Regions from separate parts of the Homo sapiens genome. Here regions 2, 3 and 4 are each linked to region 1. Evidence: promoter capture Hi-C in 16 types of primary human blood cells and fetal thymus (Javierre and others, 2016). All regions are on one chromosome and are shown on one strand. The core of a region is centred on a gene start or on the middle of the fragment in contact, and the rest is flanking DNA. Distances in the headings are between cores, read along the strand shown.

Region 1 (2,853 bases), core at 45-2,544:
CCAGGATTCAACTCTCAGTCAGGCATTTTTCTCACTTACCAATGCATACAATTGCCAAGTTATATGGCATACTGGAACCCAAATTCAGGAGGCAGCACAATCCCCTATGAGAGAGGAGGGGCTGGGAGCCAGATGTCTCACAGCTGTCCAGTATACTAGCTAATATACGGATTAGGATCTGTGCAAAGCTCTTTTCTTGCAGGGTCATTTTTTTTCTTTTTTCTTTCTTTTCTTTTTTTTTTTTTTTTTTGAGACGGAGACTTGCACTGTCGCCCGGGCCGGAGTGCAATGGCATGATCTCGGCTCACTGAAACCTCTGCCTCCCGGGTTCACGCGATTCTCCTGCCTCAAGCCTCCCAAGTAGTTGGGATTACAGGCACACACCGACATGCCCGGCTTTTTTTTTTTTTTTTGTATTTTGAGTAGAGACGGGGTTTCACTATGTTGGCCAGGCTGTCTCGAACTCCTGACCTCATGATCCGTCTGCCTTGGCCTCCCCAAGTGCTAGGATTACAGGAGTGAGCCACCGCGCCCGGCCGCAGGGTGATTTTAAGGCCTTTATGGGCCCAAGTTGCATTATAAAATGTTATATCCCAGATTCACTGGAATATGTACGATGAGAGCAGGTGGCATTAATATCTTGCAGTAATGAACTAATTGGTAAAAACCGTTTTGTTTACATTAAAATGGTTCAAAAGCCAGCGACACAGCGATGATTGTTTCCATTTAGCAGATGTGGATACTGAGGCACAGAAAACGGTCAAGCCTTCTGCCCACAGTCACCAGAAAGGAGGAAATTCAAGTCTGGGGTTGTGTGGCTTCAGAGCCTGAGCTCAACCATGACGAGCACACTGAAAAGGAAACCCCTCCTAACTAACTCCCGCTCCGGGGTCCTTTAAGAGCGTCAGAACCCAGAACTGAGTAAAACAAGATCAAAGCGTATGTAAATACGGACTAGGGGCTGCCGGGAAATAATCACTACGGCTAGGCCCTAGGGAAAGCAGACGTCGGAGTCCTAGTGCGCCTGCGTAGCCCCATCTCGCCTTTCCGCCCCACGGCCTAGCGAGGCCCATCTCTAACCCACACAGGCCCAAAGTTGTCTAATGTGCGCAGGCGCCCTGCTGTGAGCCCGCCTCCTTCTCTGCCCTGCTCTTGCGCTCTCGCTCTCTCAGAGTTCGTCTCTGGCTCTTTGTACGTCACTTCCTGTTTGTGGCGCGAGAGGGCGGTATTTCCGTCCAGAGGGTGGGAGGGGGCGGTAAGCGGGGGCTGGGGGGAGGGGGCGGGGGGGGCCGCGCCGTGCTAGCCGTTGGGCCTGCCTCGGAGGAGGCGTCGCCGCCGCCGCTGCCGCTGCCGGCGCCGTTGCCGCTGCCGGGAAACACAAGGAAAGGGAACCAGCGCAGCGTGGCGATGGGCGGGGGTAGAGCCCCGCCGGAGAGGCTGGGCGGCTGCCGGTGACAGGTGAGTGCGCCAGCGCGTGTCCCCGAACGCCCCCCCCACGATGGTCGCGTCCGGGCCCCCCGCGGTGCCGCGATGGGCTGTACCACCCGTGCCCGGCGGGGGGACCGCGGCCCTCGAGCCCCTCCTTCAGGAGCTGAGTGGGGGTGGCCGAGCGGGGGCGGTGGGACCAGCCTCGGGGGGCCGGGGCGGTGGCGGCGGGCCATACCACTGAGGCGGTGGGGGGAGCGCTGCAAGTTTGCGGGACGGGGAGCGCAGGCCGCAGCGTGCGCGGGCCGGGGGCTGGACCTTTCGGGCGCGGCGGGCAGATCGAGCCTGGCGTGCGCGGGCTAAGCTATCGAGGGGGCGCGCCGCATCAAGTGTAGAGGGCTGTACCTTTTTGGCGCTGTGGAAGCCGTTGCTGTGCTGTATTTACAGGGGTGGGGGCTTCTGGGGAGGATGCTTCCCCAACTGTGGCTGGGTTATATCACCACGGCGTTGGGGGAGCCCTGCTTAGAACGTAGGGGAACCCAAATCAGAGGACTGTGATGTTTGTGATCTTTAAGGGACTGGGACGGGGCGGGACAGGCCCTAGTGGGTTTTAGGGGCGTATTTTGGGAGGACTGTGATGCCGATTGGTGAGGAGGGGTTTCTGTTTCCTGTATTTGACGTGTGTGGCGTTGGGGGTTTACACTGATCTCAGCCTTTATTGAACTTCTTAACGACTCTGGAGGGAACGTCATGGTTACTGGGGTGCTTTGGACCATGGAGGTGCTGCTCTGGATTCCATTACCCTCTCAGATTATTTACCAGGCAGTAACAGTTCTTTCCTTCCATAGGGGAGGGAGGAAAGCTGTGTTAGAAGTCACTGAAGTTGTCTGAGCCTTAACATTCTGAAGAGGAAGAGGGATTGGGCTTGGATTTGAGGAGCCGTGCCCCTGCACCCGCTTGTTAAAACTTGGGAGGAAGGAGTGTTTGGGGGAACACCTCTTCCCCCCAGGGAAGCTCTCTGGGGGCATCTTGATCTTGGGATTGTGAGGACCTCTTCCTCTCATTTGGAGACCTCTTGGGGCTCAGCAAGACGCCTGGGCTGGAGTAACTAGAGCCTCCAATGGGCTGCTTTTCAACTTCATCCACTCCTACCTTCCCAGAGAAGCAGCAGGAGTTCACTCGTGGGCTGAACTTGGTTGGCAGTGGATGTGAAGGGTCCAGGAACCAACGCAGACCACTACATGCTCCTCTGTCGCTGGCCACGAAGCTGTTTGTGTCTCCCAGTTACCAGCTCGGTCACACATCATGTTTACACTCCCCACCAAGGCAGTAACAGTTGGCCTTGCAGTGAGGCCGGGAGCTGTTTTCCCAGCTGTTCCTCTTTGCATAGGCCAAGGGGACTTGGAGTGGGGGTGCCCCTGGCCCAGC
Region 2 (2,783 bases), core at 218-2,717, 890 kb after region 1:
CAAAGACTGGGAAGGCAATAGAATATCCTGGTAAAGGGGGCTGCACTCACTGTCCATTGTCGATGTTAGTGTTCTGAATCAAGTTTTGGGCCGCAACCTTCATCAAGGTCTAGTCAAAACAAAAACAAAACACGTGGGAAATGGAAAAACAAAAGGGAATACCTCTGGCAGATCTACACTCTTTCTTGAGATCACTCAGTCTCAGGTTTTCTTTTCAACTGGCACCTTCCCTCCTGACTTTCCAAAGTAATATTCGTTTCCATTCCTATAGCTGTCACCACTCCATCCTCCCAGAGGCCCGCTCTCACCTGAGCTTCTCGCCAATAACCTAAGGGTCCTCCCTCACCTATCAATCAAGGGCAGAATCTCCGTATAAGCCAGTACTCTCCTCAGGCTTTAACGACCAGAGCCCAGTTTCTCCTTTAAACAACCCCTCACTCAAGCTCCGGCCAGTCCCAGCCTCAGCATCAGCGCTGATCCCATCTCTGCCGAGCTTCGCTTAGGTCTCGCAGAAAACAACAGTTTTATTTATTTATTTATTTATTTTTTTGACGGAGTCTCGCTCTGTTGCCCAGGCTGGAGTGCAATGGCACGATGTCGGCTCACTGCAACCTCCGCCTCCTGGGTTCAAGCGATTCTCCTGCCTCAGCTTCCCGAGTAGCTGTAATTACAGGCGCGCGCCACCATGCCCGGCTAATTTTTGTATTTTTAGTAGAGACGAGGTTTCACCAGGCTGGTCTTGAACTCCTGACCTCAAGTGATCCGCCCGCCTCGGCCTCCCAAAGTGCTGGGAACACAGGCGTGCACCAGCCAGGCCAAAACAGCAGGTTCTATTCCTCTTTCTGCTTAGCGCTCTCTCCGACTAACCTGGCCCTCGGCCTGCCCCTCTAGACTACCAAATCCAGTTTGCTTCTCGCTGCTTAAGGCCAATCACCTGTAGACTCTCCTTCAGCTGCGGGATGAGCATCTTATAACGCTGCACAGGATCGAAGTCCTGTTGCTGTTGCTGCAGGAGGCCGCTCTGGGCAGGGCCCACCAGTTGTGCTGGCGGTTGCGGCTGCTGCTGGGGACCCGGGCCGCCAGCCGAACTAGGACCCGATACACCAGCAGCTGAGGAAGCCGCTGAAGCTTGCTGCTGGGATGCAGCCATCTTCCTCGCGTAGACCGCCGGAAGTGCGTTACGACTGCGTCTCTCCCCGTTGCTTTTCAGCATCCCTATTTCTAGTCCCCGTTTGCTAGTTAGTCCCGCCCCCTAGGCAATTAAGCCAATGGAGGGGAAGGAGGTGCCCCAACGTTACGTCACTCTCAAATCTGCGTCCAGACTGAGATATCTCTCCACCAATCACAGAAGCACCTCTCTCCCTCGCTCCGCCCTTCACCCAGACGCTCGCCAATCCGTGTGTGGTTCCGAGCCGGACTTCATTTCCCCGAAGGCGTCGCGGCCTGAGGAGACCCGTTGGGTCCTCAGCGTCTTGGCGGCAGTTGGTGGAACCGGAGCTTCGAGTCCGTCCCCGGTGCTGCCTGCGCGTTCACCTGAGTCTCGCTGGAGCTCTTCTCGCCCGCCCACCTCATCTCAACCCACTTTCCGCGGGGAGCGGCGCCAAGCTGGGCCTTCCTCGGATCAGGCGTCCCCTGAAGTCGGCACGCCCCTCTGCGTCCCCCTTCGGTCCCGCTAGGACCCCGTCCGGGCTGCCGTCGCCTCGTCGCTATGGCGCCCACCATCCAGACCCAGGCCCAGCGGGAGGATGGCCACAGGTAGGCGCCACGCTTTTCTGTTGCAGCAAGGCGGGGGATCGGGAGAGGGTTTCTGCTGAACAACGTCACCAGCCCCCAGGTCTGCCCGTGACGTCATGAAGCGCTCACCTTTGACGAAGGGGGCGGGTTCCTTCTGAGATTCAGGTGTTCCCCTCCTCCCCGCCGTGCAGTTCAGGGATTAGGCTTTTGGAGACTCCCTCCAGAAGGGATCCCTCCAGTCAACCGTTTGGAGACCCCTCTTCCGAAGACGATTGAGTACATGGTTCTTTATTAAAGCACTTGAAGCCATCTCCTGCAAAAGGGATTGAGCACTTGGCCTTGTTCATTAAAGCTTTTGGGGGCATTTCTTCCTAAATAAATTGAACATTTGTCTCCTTCCATTAAAGCATTTGGACACTCCCCACACCACCACCCAAAGAAACCAGCATTTGTCACCCCTCCTACCTTTTGAAAGGTTGGGGAAGCCTTTTTCATTCTCCTGTCAATCCCGTCCTCTCCACCTATCACTGTTTCTTTCTTCTCCACTAGGCCCAATTCCCACCGGACTCTGCCTGAGAGGTGAGCCCCACTGTGCTTTCCCAGGAGCGGTGGGGCAGTGGGGCTGGGAGCAGAGGTGGGGCAGCGGGGGCCCACTTTTGAGCCACTAATGTTCCTAGGTCTGGAGTGGTCTGCCGAGTCAAGTACTGCAATAGCCTCCCTGATATCCCCTTCGACCCCAAGTTCATCACCTACCCCTTCGACCAGAACAGGTGAGACTAAGGAATGGGAAAACTACTCAGGTATGAGTTCCTTGAAGGCAGGGACTGCTTGTCTCGTTGGCTGCTGTCTGCTCAGGGCCTAGCACAGTACCTACCCTAGCACATAGTAGTAGCTGCTCAATTGTTAATGGAGCAAGCAGTGTCCAAGTCCCTTCCCACTGGGGAGCCAGCTTTCAGACTCTGCCATGGGGGACACTTCATTCTGAGTTCCTCCCCAGAGAAGCTCCGCCTCTGGGAAGCAGGGCTGTGAGGGGTGAAGCTGGAATCCAA
Region 3 (2,700 bases), core at 126-2,625, 550 kb after region 1:
CCCAGATATTATATAATTTCATACACAAAACCTAAAGTTTTTCGGGGGAACAGTGTGTGCTTGGAAAGATGTAGTTGAAAAGAAAGACTGAAAGCAAGTCGTAGGGCATAATGGATTTCTGAAGAAATAGTTGCAACCAGCAGAAGTATGGGCTATTGTGCAGAGGATATGGAAGTTAAAGAAGATCAATCTCTCTGCATCACTGAAAGGATTGCTGGAATGCCTGAGAAGTAAATAACATCAACATCTTTATCCACAGCTTACTAGGTGGCCAGACGCCCTGAACTGATATTTCTTCCCCAGTTCAGATGAATAGCTGGGATATTACTCAAAATTCTATTGCATATCTGTTGCAAGGAAAAGCAGTTCCTCTTTCCCTTCTGTGGTAATTTCTTACAAGCTACAGTTCTGGGCAGGGTGTGAGGGTGGTTGCCTAGAACGGGGTTTCCAAAGCTCCTTAATTGTGGCCTCTGACCCTTTTCATTGCTTCCATGTCCATACCCAGAGTCAAAACCCAAGGAATGCAGTGGGATGACATTACAAATTAATCTTAAGGAAATACGTTATATACCAAAAGAACTGTGTGATTGTGCTGATTTATATGAGCAGAATCTTGGAGTGCATGCTTGGAAATGAATTGTCAAGGTTTTAGATCAGGGAAAGTGGAATTTATTGTCGGGTCAAGCACAACTAATATTAATGCTAATGCATCCTCATCGCTTAGCTCCCACTTATGAGTGAGAAATCTCACCTTTCTCCAAGAATCTGCAGGAGAACGACAGCCTCAGATTTTGATTCACATGAAAAGAAATAGGGAAATAAGAGGGCGTACCTAAAGCCCAGGTGTCTGAGAGACAGAGTGGGAGTGGCTCTCACCTGGCAGAGCCAAGGGATCTGAGGGTGGGTAAAGAAGACACAAGTGTTTTCTCTACTTCTGTCCCCAGGTCCTGCGAATGATCAAGATCTATGCTCTCCCAGAACCACTGGAGAAGGAGGAGGAGGATTTTCTTTCAAAGCCAAGTGCCTTGCCCCCAGGATCTCCAGCTTTTTACCATTGCACAGGTTAGGAGAACGCACACCTTCCTGGTAGATTCTGCACAGTGGAGAAAAGGCTTCATGAGAAGCATGGAGGCTGGAACTCACACCACTCATCCTCACTCCATCGTCTTTATCTGTGCATTTCCCTGGTGACCCCTTCCTCCTCCAGTACCTCCCTCACTGTCGTTTCTGCTGCATCACAGGCACAGGCCTCCAAACAGGTGTGGTTGTGACTGAGTCTGTTTCTGACACCCCACCCCTTCTCACTGTGTGAGGAAACCTTCCTGGGAGGGGCTTGGAATCAGGAATAAAGCCAGAGGCAGGGCTGATAGGGGCCATTTAAATTCTGCAGCTCAGAGATTCACACAGAAGTCTGGACACAATTCAGAAGAGCCACCCAGAAGGAGACAACAATGTCCCTGCTACCCGTGAGTTAAAAAGGCACAGCCTTCAATAATCTCAGGTCACACAGAAAAGGGAAGAGGGAGATTTTATGGGATGAAAATATGAAAATTTCTACTGTGAATGCTTTACTGAGAGTTGTGGGTGTGTGGAAGAGAGACCCTAGGGCTATGGTATCTGAGATGCTCCTGGGGTAGGGGGGTAGGGGGTGTGGATGCTGGAACATTGTGACCCTCTGTGAGCATGTGATGGTATCTGATGAGAGTAAACTCTGCTAAAAATGATGTGACTTTAGACGGGATGTGTATGGCCCTCCAGGATATGGGTGGGTGTGTAAGTGATTGTAATCAGGTGACTGTGTTTTGTCTTCATGACTGTGATGTGAGTGTGTGTGTGAGCACAGCCGGACCAGTGCATGAGCATCTTTATATGCACAGTGAGCAGGTGTGTGTGACTCAGTGAGTGGCACGGCTCTGTGTGACTGTGAGTGTGTGTGCTGGAATGTGACTGGGTGTTGAACTGGGAACATGCATGTGGCCTTCTGTGCATGTGAAGGTTCCTCCCCACATAGCAGTACTCTGTCTAACTTCCCTTGTGCATCACTGTGGATCCCCGGTGACAGAACTTGTGGGATCTTGGGGCCCTTGAGTTACCGAGGACTTATCTCTGAGCATTTATGAGAGCAGAATGCATGAATTCTCAGGTGCCTTTTCCCAAGCAGAATGGGGGTGAGAAACAGACGATGGGGCTGATGGTTCCTTAGGTGGAATCTGCACACAGTGACCACTGGCTCCTGCCTCCAGCCTCAGGTCTCTCCCTGTCTCCTACCCTAGCCTGGCCTTCCCATTGAGTGCCAGGATGCTAGAGAAGGACATTGAGGGACTTGATTTAAGAGACTGAATCACCCAAAACCAGGAAGGTACAAGGCAGAGCTTACAGTGGATATTCATCAAGATGTTTGCTGAGGCCTGTAGTCTCAGCACTTTGGGTGGCCGAATTGAAAGGCCCATGTCAGGCCAGGACTGGTAGACCAGCCTGGGAGACATAGCAAGATTTCATCTTTCCAAAAATTTAAAAATTTATTGAATGTGGTGTTGCATACCGTAGTTCCAGCTGCTGGGGGGCATATGCAAGAGGTTCACTGAAGCCCAGGCCTTCAAACCTGCAGTAATTTTTTTTTTTTTTTTTTGAGACAGAGTCTCGCTCTGTTTCCCAGGCTGGAGTGCAGTGGTGCAATCTCGGCTCACTGCAACCTCCACC
Region 4 (2,700 bases), core at 113-2,612, 750 kb after region 1:
AACTCTCATATTTGGATTCCAGCTAAATTCAAAGGATTTTTTTTCGAGACAGGGTCTTGCTCTGTCATACAGGGCTGGAGTGCAGTGGTGCAATCATAGCTCACTGCACAGTCCACCTACCAAGCTCAAGTCATCCTCCCACCTCAGCCTCCTGAATAGCTGAGACTACAGGTGCACATGCCACCATGCCTGCCTAATTTTTTTTTTCTGTAGGGACAGGGGTCTCACTATGTTGCCCAGGCTGGTCTCAAACTCATGGGCTCAAGCGATCCTCCCACCTTTGCCTCCCAACTTGCTGGGATTACAGGCATGAGCCACTACACCCAGCCACAGCTGACTGATTTTAAATGGAACATAGACTTTCACGTTTTGGGTTATCATCAGGATCAGAGCTAGCCACACAGAAAGGCTAACCATATCATTAGAGAGTTGGGGCTTGGAGCCATGTGATATCAGGTAGGAGGCTGGAGATTGACTTCAACAAAATGGACGATGGTTTAATCAAGCATGCCTAGGTAGTAAAACCCCAGTAAAAACTCTGGACACCAAAGCCTGGGTGAGAGTCCTATGTTAGCACTACCCCCACACTTATTGCCACACATGGACGACAAAGGGTAACACATCCCTAGGAACACAGGAACTTCACATTTGGAACCCTCCCCATCCCAGATTGTGCCTTATACATCTCTTCTAATCTGTGTCCTTTGCCTGTAATAAGCATGACTGTGAATATAACAGATTTCAATGAGCTCTGGGAATTATCAAACCTAAAGGTGGTTTTGGGAAACCCCCAAACTTCCAGTGTCAAAATATTACTTACAGGCCAGGCCGAGTGGCTCAGGCCGGTAATCCCAGCACTTTGGGAGGCCAAGGCAGGATGATCACTTGAGTCCAGGAGTTCGAGACCAGCCTGGGCAACATAGTGAGACCCAATTTCTACAAAAAATAAAAAATCAGCTGGGTGTGGTTGTGTGCACCTGTAGTTCCAGTTACTCCAGAGGCTGAGGCAGGAGGATGGCTTGAGGCTGGGAGGTCAAAGCAGCAGTAACCGAGATCGCACCACTGCACTCCAGCCTAGGCGACAGGGCGAGACCCAGTCTGAAAAAAAAAAAAAAAAGACAGGAGCTGGAAAATGACCGTATAAGGAACTTTACATTAATACTGAAGTGGTTGTAATTTAAGATACCGCGCAGTCCGCAGGTCCTCAGGCGCTCAGAGGACCAGAGGCGGCTACAGACGTAATGGCTACTCAGGACCGCTAGGGAACGCTAGAGGATTGGCCACCGTGCTTACGCATGCGCACACTCTGGCACGCACAGCGTTTACGCGCTCACTGAGACTCGCGCATGCGCAGGTCTCGCATACAGCAGTGCAGTGCCGTTATTCCAGTCTCCGTAGAAACGCTGGGACTATGGCGGAGCCGACTGGGCTGTTGGAGATGTCCGAGCTCCCCGGAGATAGCAGTGTCCCACAGGTGGGCACCGCGAGTGGCGTCAGCGACGTACTGCGGGGGGCAGTCGGCGGCGGGGTTCGGGTGCAGGAGGCTCGGGAAGGCCCAGTGGCCGAAGCTGCGCGGTCCATGGCGCGGATGCCGGGCCCTGTGCCCGGGCCCATCCCCAGCAGCGTCCCGGGCCTGGCCTCCGCGCCAGACCCCCATCAGCAGCTCGCTTTCTTAGAAATTAACCGGCAGCTGTTGTTCCGCGAGTATCTGGATGGTAGCTCCATGATTCCGGTCAGATTACTACGGGATTTCGAGGAACGCCGCAGGCTGTTTGTGGAAGGCTGCAAGGCGAGGGAAGCAGCCTTTGACGCGGATCCCCCGCAGATGGACTTCGCTGCTGTCGCGTTTACGGTAGCGCTGACTGCCTCCGAGGCCCTCAGTCCTCTGGCCGACTGAGTCGGCTGTGATGATGACATTGGTGGCAAGGAATAGCCAAGTGACCCTTTTGGGATCAAAAGAACAGGCAGGCTGTGCCAGTTTAGTTAACTCAGTCATTAGGGGGAATGCAAACTGGAAGGGAATACGGCAATGTGCAATTGAAGGAGGAAGCACACTCCGAAATGGAAACAGACAAGACTGTTGAATCTTGTTTTCTTTCTTCTTTTTTAGTATTATTTAAATAGAGAAGGGAGTCTCGCATCCCTAGGCTGGTCCCGAACGCTTGGACCCGAGCGATCCTCCCGCTTCGGCCTCCCAAAGTGCTGGGATTACTTTACAGGCGTGAGCCACCGCGCCCGGCCGAATCTTGTTTTCAAACAGGTCCCAAGACACTTCTGACTTAGCACTTTGTTAGCAATGCATTTTCCTGCATTTGTGAAGAATCCTTCATGACTTTCACCATAAAGGATGGTTTTGCAAAGATATGAGAAAAAAAAAATGCCAATAACAGAACCCATAGAAATGAACCTAAGTGATGAAAGAAAACAAAGAAATAGAGTTGTCAGGAATCCAGGTGTACCTGAGTTACTAGGATTGGAAGGCTATTGAGAGGACTTTGAAATTTCACAATTTGTGGTCATGTCAACAAATCCTAGTGTAAGATTCATATTTGTGTTTTCTGAGGTACTTTAGATGAACAGTAAATATTCAATAGAAAAAACCACGTATTATATGATCAGTGTTTTCAAGTCTATGTGAAATTGGGTAGGTGTGGAATAAACTTGTTTTTTGTTAATTTTAAGCTTTTTATTTTATTCTAG

Evidence for each region. Contacts are between HindIII fragments. The CHiCAGO score rates a contact against its expected background, and 5 or more counts as called.
Region 2: the fragment with the promoter of PAF1 here is called in contact with the fragment with the promoter of AKT2 in region 1 in 1 of 17 cell types (activated CD4 T cells); the score reaches 6.5 in activated CD4 T cells.
Region 3: the fragment with the promoter of CLC here is called in contact with the fragment with the promoter of AKT2 in region 1 in 3 of 17 cell types (naive CD8 T cells, fetal thymus and total B cells); the score reaches 5.3 in naive CD8 T cells.
Region 4: a contact is called between the fragment with the promoter of EID2B here and the fragment with the promoter of AKT2 in region 1, in 3 of 17 cell types (neutrophils, M1 macrophages and erythroblasts). The highest score is 7.9, in neutrophils.

The regions. Positions count from the first base shown.
Region 1 is chr19:40,283,786-40,286,638 of GRCh38, reverse strand. It overlaps AKT2 (AKT serine/threonine kinase 2), which reads left to right and starts at 1,294. Exons shown (of 14, transcript NM_001626.6): 1 at 1,294-1,458. RefSeq lists enhancers at 142-973, 2,130-2,269 and a silencer at 1,260-1,759. The HindIII fragment of the contact is 30,037 bases long and covers 1-2,853 here.
Region 2 is chr19:39,389,790-39,392,572 of GRCh38, reverse strand. PAF1 (PAF1 component of Paf1/RNA polymerase II complex) reads left to right here and starts at 1,467. Exons shown (of 14, transcript NM_019088.4): 1 at 1,467-1,755; 2 at 2,284-2,313; 3 at 2,412-2,504. The coding sequence starts at 1,709. MED29 (mediator complex subunit 29) reads right to left here and starts at 1,195. Exons shown (of 4, transcript NM_017592.4): 1 at 935-1,195; 2 at 51-109. The coding sequence starts at 1,150. It also overlaps a transcript of SAMD4B not described here. RefSeq lists an enhancer at 851-1,140 and a silencer at 2,678-2,783. The HindIII fragment of the contact is 958 bases long and covers 1,131-2,088 here.
Region 3 is chr19:39,736,704-39,739,403 of GRCh38, reverse strand. It overlaps CLC (Charcot-Leyden crystal galectin), which reads left to right and starts at 1,375. Exons shown (of 4, transcript NM_001828.6): 1 at 1,375-1,466. The coding sequence starts at 1,452. The HindIII fragment of the contact is 8,050 bases long and covers 1-2,700 here.
Region 4 is chr19:39,531,514-39,534,213 of GRCh38, reverse strand. EID2B (EP300 interacting inhibitor of differentiation 2B) reads left to right here and starts at 1,362. Exons shown (of 1, transcript NM_152361.3): 1 at 1,362-2,700. The coding sequence starts at 1,412. The coding sequence ends at 1,897. The HindIII fragment of the contact is 7,702 bases long and covers 1-2,684 here.